Linked DNA regions of Homo sapiens: region 2 is linked to region 1. Evidence: promoter capture Hi-C in 16 types of primary human blood cells and fetal thymus (Javierre and others, 2016). All regions are on one chromosome and are shown on one strand. The core of a region is centred on a gene start or on the middle of the fragment in contact, and the rest is flanking DNA. Distances in the headings are between cores, read along the strand shown. Region 1 holds the start of NUDT16 (nudix hydrolase 16). Region 2 overlaps NPHP3 (nephrocystin 3).

The links. Contacts are between HindIII fragments. The CHiCAGO score rates a contact against its expected background, and 5 or more counts as called.
Region 2: a contact is called between a fragment that was not itself captured here and the fragment with the promoter of NUDT16 in region 1, in 1 of 17 cell types (total B cells). The highest score is 5.5, in total B cells.

Annotation. Positions count from the first base shown.
Region 1 is chr3:131,380,217-131,384,109 of GRCh38, reverse strand. NUDT16 (nudix hydrolase 16) reads right to left here and starts at 2,336. Exons shown (of 3, transcript NM_152395.3): 1 at 2,168-2,336; 2 at 1,795-2,064; 3 at 1-948. The coding sequence starts at 2,305. The coding sequence ends at 769. It overlaps NUDT16-DT (NUDT16 divergent transcript), which reads left to right and starts at 2,635. Exons shown (of 4, transcript NR_038976.1): 1 at 2,635-2,777. RefSeq lists enhancers at 1,328-1,896, 1,897-2,466, 2,758-3,027 and a silencer at 2,348-2,647. The HindIII fragment of the contact is 2,474 bases long and covers 1,745-3,893 here.
Region 2 is chr3:132,717,345-132,721,180 of GRCh38, reverse strand. It overlaps NPHP3 (nephrocystin 3), which reads left to right. Exons shown (of 27, transcript NM_153240.5): 2 at 1,351-1,476; 3 at 2,037-2,187. It overlaps NPHP3-ACAD11 (NPHP3-ACAD11 readthrough (NMD candidate)), which reads left to right. Exons shown (of 45, transcript NR_037804.1): 2 at 1,351-1,476; 3 at 2,037-2,187. Among named protein-coding and RNA genes, the nearest start is that of NPHP3-AS1, 2.5 kb to the left of the region's middle. The HindIII fragment of the contact is 846 bases long and covers 2,009-2,854 here.

The sequences.
Region 1 (3,893 bases), core at 1,087-3,586:
AGTGAAGGCAGGGTGGTGCTAGACTGGGGTGGGTCAATTCCCTTCTGATAGTCTCGGAGTCTCAGGCATCCCAAAGATGAAAGCTCTAGAGGAGAGACACCAGTCCTCACAGGACTCATGTCCATGCTCAGTCCAAGGAGACCTAGCCACTTCCTTACCCTTCCTGCTCAGTTTCAGAAGAAAAGGATTGGGGATTGGTTGGGCTGCTCTCCCACCTTTTAAGAGCCAACTGCTTTGGTCACCACTCAAGACAAGAGCAAGTCTATTTTCAGAAAGCACAGGGGGTGCTCTGTTTCTCTATCCTCCCTAACAAATAGGCTGGGCTAGACCCTGGAGGGCAACCATGGAGGAGTGTGGGAAGGATTCACCCTTGCTTCAGAAGCTCCTTGCAATCAGGGACCAGGGTAGTGTGACAAATGCCACTTCAAGGTTAAACTGGACATGACCAGGGGAAGGTGTCAGGCTGTGTGTTGTTACAGATTGTATATTTGCATGCCTGGGGGTTACCAGGCTGTACGCATATAAACAGGGAGGAGGCAGGCTCTGAGAACCTGCCAGGGTGCCTGGGATAAGCTGTGACTTTTTGCCCCTGATGCCATAAGTTGGAGGGTCCTCTGCTCAAAACATATGGTACACACTTCTCCTTCTTTTCATCTGGTATCATGTATCATCTCTCAGATCCAATAAGAAAACATTCCCACGTCCTTCCCTCCCTCCCTAGTACCAAGGTCCTCATCTCAGTTTTCATGGGTCCATGGAGGGCTGCCTCTAGTGATGAGCTGGAATCTTAAGGCCTGAAATAGAGCCAGACTGCAGCAGTCCCAAGTCCTGGAGAGCTTCAAGTAACTGCTCCCGCGCAGAGCCAATAAAGGAATTCTCCAGGAAGGTAGGCAGGCCTCCTACACCATCCCGCAGGGTATACAGGGGCACTCGCACCAGGCCCAGCACCTGTAAAAGGAAGGAGACAGGAGACACTAGGGCCCCAGGTGGCTCATTCCCTTAACTCCATCCTTTCTCCAGCAGATCAGGCCTCACCCCTTAATACTCCAGCAGAACCAGGCCCAAGGCTCACACCTCACTAAAGCCTAGTGGCCCAACCTTCTGCAGGAAAATGACCCAAAACATATTATCTAGCTCTATCAATTAATCTTTCCCACATCTGCTTCTAAACCTCTAGTGGCTACTGCCTCAAAGATGTATTCATACCCTTTCACCAGTGGTTGTCAAAATGTGGTCCTCAGATTATTTGCATCAGCATTATTTGGGAACTTTTGAAAACTACAAATTCTCAGGTTTCCTCTCCCCCCGCCCCACCACCAATGCAGGAATGCTGAGAGAAATCGCTATTTTAATAAGACGCCCCGATGATTCTGCTACCTGCCAAATTTTGAGAACCACCTTCATACATAATCTATCTACTAGCCCTGCCTGAAATATCAGGGCCACATCTCCTACACAAGAAAAGCAAACCCCAAGAATAAAACCTAGGTTGCCACACCTAGATAATGTGATAATCTATCACACTGTCAATAGGGAACAGCAGAGAGACATGGATGAGTGTGTTCTAGAAAGGATCTCTCCTGGTAAAGGGTGGGAAAGACCTTTACAGAAAGCCCAGGTTGGCAGTACTAATTCAGAGTATAGATGATCACGATCCCAACTCCACCAAGAAAGCTGGGGAGAGGGCAAGGTCAGAGGGGCAAAGACTTTTCTCCAGGGATGCTTTCTTGGGGGAGAGAAAGCTTTGGGAGAAGAGGAAATTGGGAAAGGGACAGAGTCCCAGGCTGGTCCCACCTCCAGCCCGTGGTCCTTGGCGCGTGTTGCGCCGGCCTCCACAGCCAACAGCTCCTCGAGCGTCAGACGCTTGGCATAGAAGTGGGCCACAACGCGTGGCCCTGACCCGACGTGGGAGCTGCGGTAGTCAGTGCGCTCCACGCGGAAAGCGGCAGCCGCTTCGCCCAGCTCCTCGCGCAGCTCGCGGTTCAGCCCGTCCTCTAGGCTTCTGTCCTGCGTGTCCACGAATCCGCCGGGGAAGCCCAGGCGTCCATCGAAGCGCATCTGCATCTGCGGGAGGGGGAAGCGGGGATTGGCAGGGGCGCCCCAGAGGAGACCACCAGAGAGGGTGCGGGGCTCAGGCAGAAAGTGGCCGGGCGCGCCCCCTTCTCACCAGTATGGCGTAGCGCAGCGGGATGCGGCCGAAGAGCATCCCAGGGTCCGGCGCGTAGAGGAGAGCGTGGCACGCATGACGCCAGCCCGACCCCAGCGCCAGGGCCTCGCCTAGCTCCAGCCTGCGGGCTCCGGCCATGGCCGGACACTGCTCCTCTGCTGTCCCGAAGGCCCAATGGGCAGAGGGGCGGGTCTCACCTCGGACCAATCCGAGCCTGGGCGGTGCTGCAAGGCCCAATCCCTGCAGGGATAAGGGGAGGAACCTAGGCGCCTGGGGGCGGGGCGCCGCGACCGGTGCGGGAGGCAGCTAATCAGGGCGGGGCTTGCAGACCGGGTTGAAGTCCAGGGCCCAGGAACCCTAGGGTAACCGAAAGCAGCCTCTGGGTTGGGCCTGCGGTGGGGCGGGGCTAGAGGTGTGGCCGCGCCCTAAACCTGGCGCAAGGCCGGTACCTAAAGGCTCCTGGGAGCCAAAAGAGCAAGTCAGGGAACTAGCTTTGGTTGGGTTCGGTGGTACACAAAGCACAAGGCCTGGGTTGGGGTTAGGAGGAAATGAGACTTGCGGCGGGTCGGGGCTGAAGATGTGGCAGCGCCCTGAACCTGGAGAAAGGCTGGTACGTAAACGCCTGCGTCGCAATCTGGAGTCAGCTGGAGTGTCCCGGCAGGTGAGGAAGAGCTGGGGCGCTCAGTTGAGTGCTGGGAGCCAAAGAAGTAATAACTACCTTTGGTTGGGTGTGGTGGTACACAAAGCACAAGGCCTGGGTGGGGGTTAGGAGGAAATGAGGCAGGGTTGGCCTCAGACACCAAGGCCTATCCTAGGGAAATGGAGATGGACAGGCGCCATGGTCTGACAACTATCTTGAGTGGTGAAATTGAGGGGACTTGGTGACTGAGTGAATGGGGAAGAGGGAGCGCTGGGCTAGTGGTGGTTCCGAGTTTCCTGGATGTGGTGTCATTTTCTGAGAGGGGGAGAGTAGGAGAAGGGTGAGCAGTGATAAGTGTAGTTCTAAGGAATTGGGGTGGCCATAGGCAGTGGGCAGCTGATCGTGGGGGTCTGACGCACAGGGAGTGGCACATAGAGAAGTCACAGGGCAGTGAGATTTTCAGGGGAAGGGTGGGGGTGGAAGGAGCTGTGAGTGAAATCCTGTGGCACAGGACTGGGAGTGAGGAGGGGTGAGAGATAGAAGAAGCCTCCTAGGCTTTCTAGTCTTTCCCTCAAACCCCCTCAGACCTCTGAGCTATGAAGGAGGGTGGGTTACCCTACCACAAGGGCAGAGGCCTACTCAGGGCCTGATGCTGAGATGCAGGATCCCTCACTCCAGGCCAGGCCTTCCCCACCCTGCAGAGCGCCCCTACACCAGGTGTCGATATTGATTATGCAATAGAAAGCAGGAGGCAGCTCCTTGAGGGGGGCTGGGCATAAACTCACAGCCTGTAAGTGACGGCATATGGTGGGAAAGAGTCCGGACCCACCCAGAAACAGGTTTGTGACCTTAACAAGTCACTTAACTCTCTCAGATCCCAGCAGCTCATCTGTTAAGTGGAGATGATACCAACCTATTAGGGATGTTGAGATATGTTAGGCACTTAGAACAGTGCCAGGCAGAAAGTAAATGTAGCCATTCTTGGAGTTGAGGGTTGGGGCACAGTGCTATGTCTTACGTTGAGGAGCCAGGGCTGGGCACATACCTATAATCCCAGCACTGTGAGAGGCGAGGTGAGAGGATCAT
Region 2 (3,836 bases), core at 1,182-3,681, 1.3 Mb before region 1:
TTTTCGAGGCCTAGGCGGACGGATCACCTGAGGTCAGGAGTTCGAGATCAGCCTGGCCAACATGGTGAAACCCCGTCTCTACTAAAAATACAAAAATTAGCCGGGCATGGTGGCACGCGCCTGTAATCCCAGCTACTCAGGAGGCTGAGGCAAGAGAATTGCTTGAACCCGGGAGGCGGAGGTTGCAGTGAGCCGAGATTGCACCATTGCACTCCAGCTTGGGTGACAGAGCGAGACTCCGTATCAAAAAAAAAAAAATAGTATAAAGCAAGAGGTTGCTTTTCTGTGAACGAATCTCTAAAACTTTTTGCCCTCAGTTTGGGGCCCCTCTGGTCGTTGTTGTGTCGTTTGTGTACTCTTTACTGTGGGAGAGACTTATAGGCAGCCTAAGAGTTCCCGGAGTCGTTACAGTCGGGGTGAAATAAATACCTCAGACTGATTTTTCTAAAAGAAAAAAAGCCTCCTGTCTTCAAGACTAGACATTCTTCTAGTCAGGTTTTGTTGTTGTTGTTGTTGTTGTTTTTGTTTTTAAACTCCCTCATTAGCTGTTGTGTAATTATTGTCGTTGTCTGGGAAGAAGTCCGTGTAGCAGTTTATCTGTTGTCTTATCAGTTTTCCTACTGGGCAACCTTAATGCACTTGCATGTATAAAATGGACTAGTGCATTTCAAATATCTGATTCAATGTATCCAAGCCACTGCCCAACAGACACCGCACGTTGGAAACAACTGTGAGGTGGGGGTAGAAAAGGCCAAACCAAACAGGGCGGAGTGCAATAAGGGTTGGCAAGTGTCACAGTCACTCATGTCACCAATCCTGATTCCCTGTGAAACATACTGGTTCCTTTCTCACATATCGAGGCATGAAAAAACTTATCCATATTTATTTCATTCATTGTGTCAGACATTTACTGGAGACTTGCAGTGTACCAGGCACTGTGAAGTGCTCAAGGGATGGTGAGATGAATAAGACATAGTGCCAACAGGCACACAGTCTCTTAGAACTACTTATCCTTCAAGTTAAGCCTTACAAAATGTAATTTTTACTATCACAAAGATGGAAAAGGCATAAGGAAGTTTAAGAGCTGATGCAGTGTTTCAAAAAAAGTTAATTTCCATTGAAAGCTTAATGTTGGTCTTTATTTGTGGTAGTTCAAGCATGGTTGCGGTTTTTTTCCATCATGTTTTGAATAAAATGGCAACATGAAGTTCCTGATAATTGGTAAAATAATAAGTAGACTTAAAATTCTAAGATACGTAACATATATATATATATATGTATATATATAAGAATGTAAAATTGAGGAGCAAGACTATTTTTGTTAGGAAATAACAAGGTAAATTATTCTAGGCACTTCAAAAAACGTATCAGAAGATACTTCGAGAAAAAGAAAGTGCTTTAGAAGCGAAATACCAAGCAATGGAGAGAGCAGCAACATTTGAACATGACAGAGATAAAGTTAAAAGGCAATTCAAGGTAAATTCCTTACATTTTTACCCCCAAAGCAACATAGAATAAAATAGTATATTCTAAAAGTATATATAATATATAATGCGATGAATAAATAGAAGTAAGTCATGTAGGATTCAGGAAAGTTGTAAGAATTAGTGTAGAGCACTTTCACATTTTTGAGTTGGACGTGGTAAACTTGAGATCATTTCAAAGAAAAACGTATGAAAGTGAACATTTTAATAGTAATTTCGAAAAAAAGGAAAGCGTTTCCATATGGGGAAAAGCATTTGGAAATGTTTAGGGATGTTGTATTATTGGTATTTAGTGGGAGAGAGACAAATTTCCTAAACATCATGCAGTGCACATGACAGACCCACACCACAGACACGCATCCTGCTGGAATTCCAGTGGCTTCCAGTTGCAAAACAGTAAGGTAAAGGTACTAGGACATTCACCCTATGAAAGAGGAAATCGAGGACCAAATGAATATTGGTTTTATGAATGAAATATTTTTCCCTTAAAGTTGATGACACAACTTTTTGATTATGAAAAAGCTTTCAACATTAAAATTATTCTTTTTAAAGATTTTTAGGGAGACCAAAGAAAATGAAATTCAGGACTTACTGAGGGCCAAGAGGGAGTTGGAGAGCAAACTTCAGAGGCTACAGGCTCAGGGTATCCAAGTATTTGATCCTGGGGAGTCTGATTCAGATGACAACTGTACAGATGTCACTGGTAAGTGTATATCCTATTTATATTTTGAGCTTTCAACATGGCTGTAATGACATGTAGAGCCAACTTTGAATTCTGCTAGATTTCTTTTACTTATCTATATTAGGTTATTGCTTTAACTACTGTTGCAAATAGTGTCGTGTGTTCTCTCTGTCAGCTGCTAAGACACCTCTTCTCCACGAAGTGTATGAATTTGGGGACTGAAGTTCCTTCTACCTTGTCACTCTGCCAACCCTAACCCATAACTTTTACTCTCTAGTCTAAGATATCTACCCCAGCTCCCACCAGCACATCTGCATTTTAGCCAAGGGAAAGAAGGAAGGGGAGAACACGTTCCTTTCCCAGAAGGTACAACCTAAGATCACTTCTCAAATCCCATTAGTCAGAACTATAACTGGGAAGACTGGATAGTGTAATCAGCAGCCAGGCAGACATGTGTCCAACTAAAATGTAGTGTTCTGTTACTGAAGAAAGAAGAGGAGAATGGATATTGGAGTTACTAGTCTCTGCAATGTTATTTCTTTACATAATGATGTATTCTTTGCAACTATCATTTAGAATACTTGCCTTATAGTTCACTGAGTGGTTTCCAGTATAGCCTTGTGAACTATTCAAAAAGTATTTGTTTTATAATTAAACAAATGAAACATGTTTTCTGGAAATAAAAGCTTGAAATCACAGAGTGAAAGGGTTTACATATTCTAAGAAAATGTTAAAGTGTGATTGATACTGAAAAAAGAAAAATATTCTATTTTAAAATGCAGTGGAAAAATGTAGTCACTCTCCCATTTGTAATGAACTGTAAGTATATTCTCACAAATGGATGCATTTTGGAGTAAAATATGGTAACTGACAGTTCCTTCTTAATTTTCATTGTAGTATCATTGGAATCTGACCAACATCCTGGAATTTTTATTGCTAACTTTTAAGGAAAAAAAATGAAGGCCGGGCACGGTGGCTTATGCCTGTAATACCAGCACTTTGGGAGGCCAAGGCGGGCGGATCACGAGGTCAAAAGATCAAGACCATCCTGGCCAACATGGTGAAACCCCGTCTCTACTAAATACAAAAATTAGCTGGGCATGGTGGTGCGTGCCTGTAGTCCCAGCTACTCGGGAGGCTGAGGCAGGAAAATCACTTGAACCCAGGAGGTGGAGGTTGCAGTGAGCCAAGATCGCGCCACCGCACTCCAGTGTGGCAACAGAGCCAGACTCATCTCAAAAAAAAAAAAAAAAAAAAAAAAAGATTCTTAATGGCCAAGAGTAGCTGAGAAAATGCTCTTTTATACCCCAACACAAGTCTTAGTGATTATTTCAGTATTGACATACTCAAATGTACAGTGTTTCAAAACTATTGTAATTGTCTTGGCAAGTTAGAAACAAATTCCTTTCTAGGTCTTTTTTCATTTTTGTTTTAAACATGAAGAAGGAACACTTGAGGGGGAATGTCACCCATGTGAGATTCAAAGAGCTACAAATAGTAAGCTCAGTTTTGCCAGAGATTTAGCTCAAATAACCATTTACTTAAGGTTATCAAGGATGTAGATATTCTGACAAATATAATTGATTAGAAAATCATCATGTTCATAAGTAGCTATTGATTCAGACATTAATTTTGTTGCTCTAGGAGGTTGAGAAGGAGGTACTTCCTGC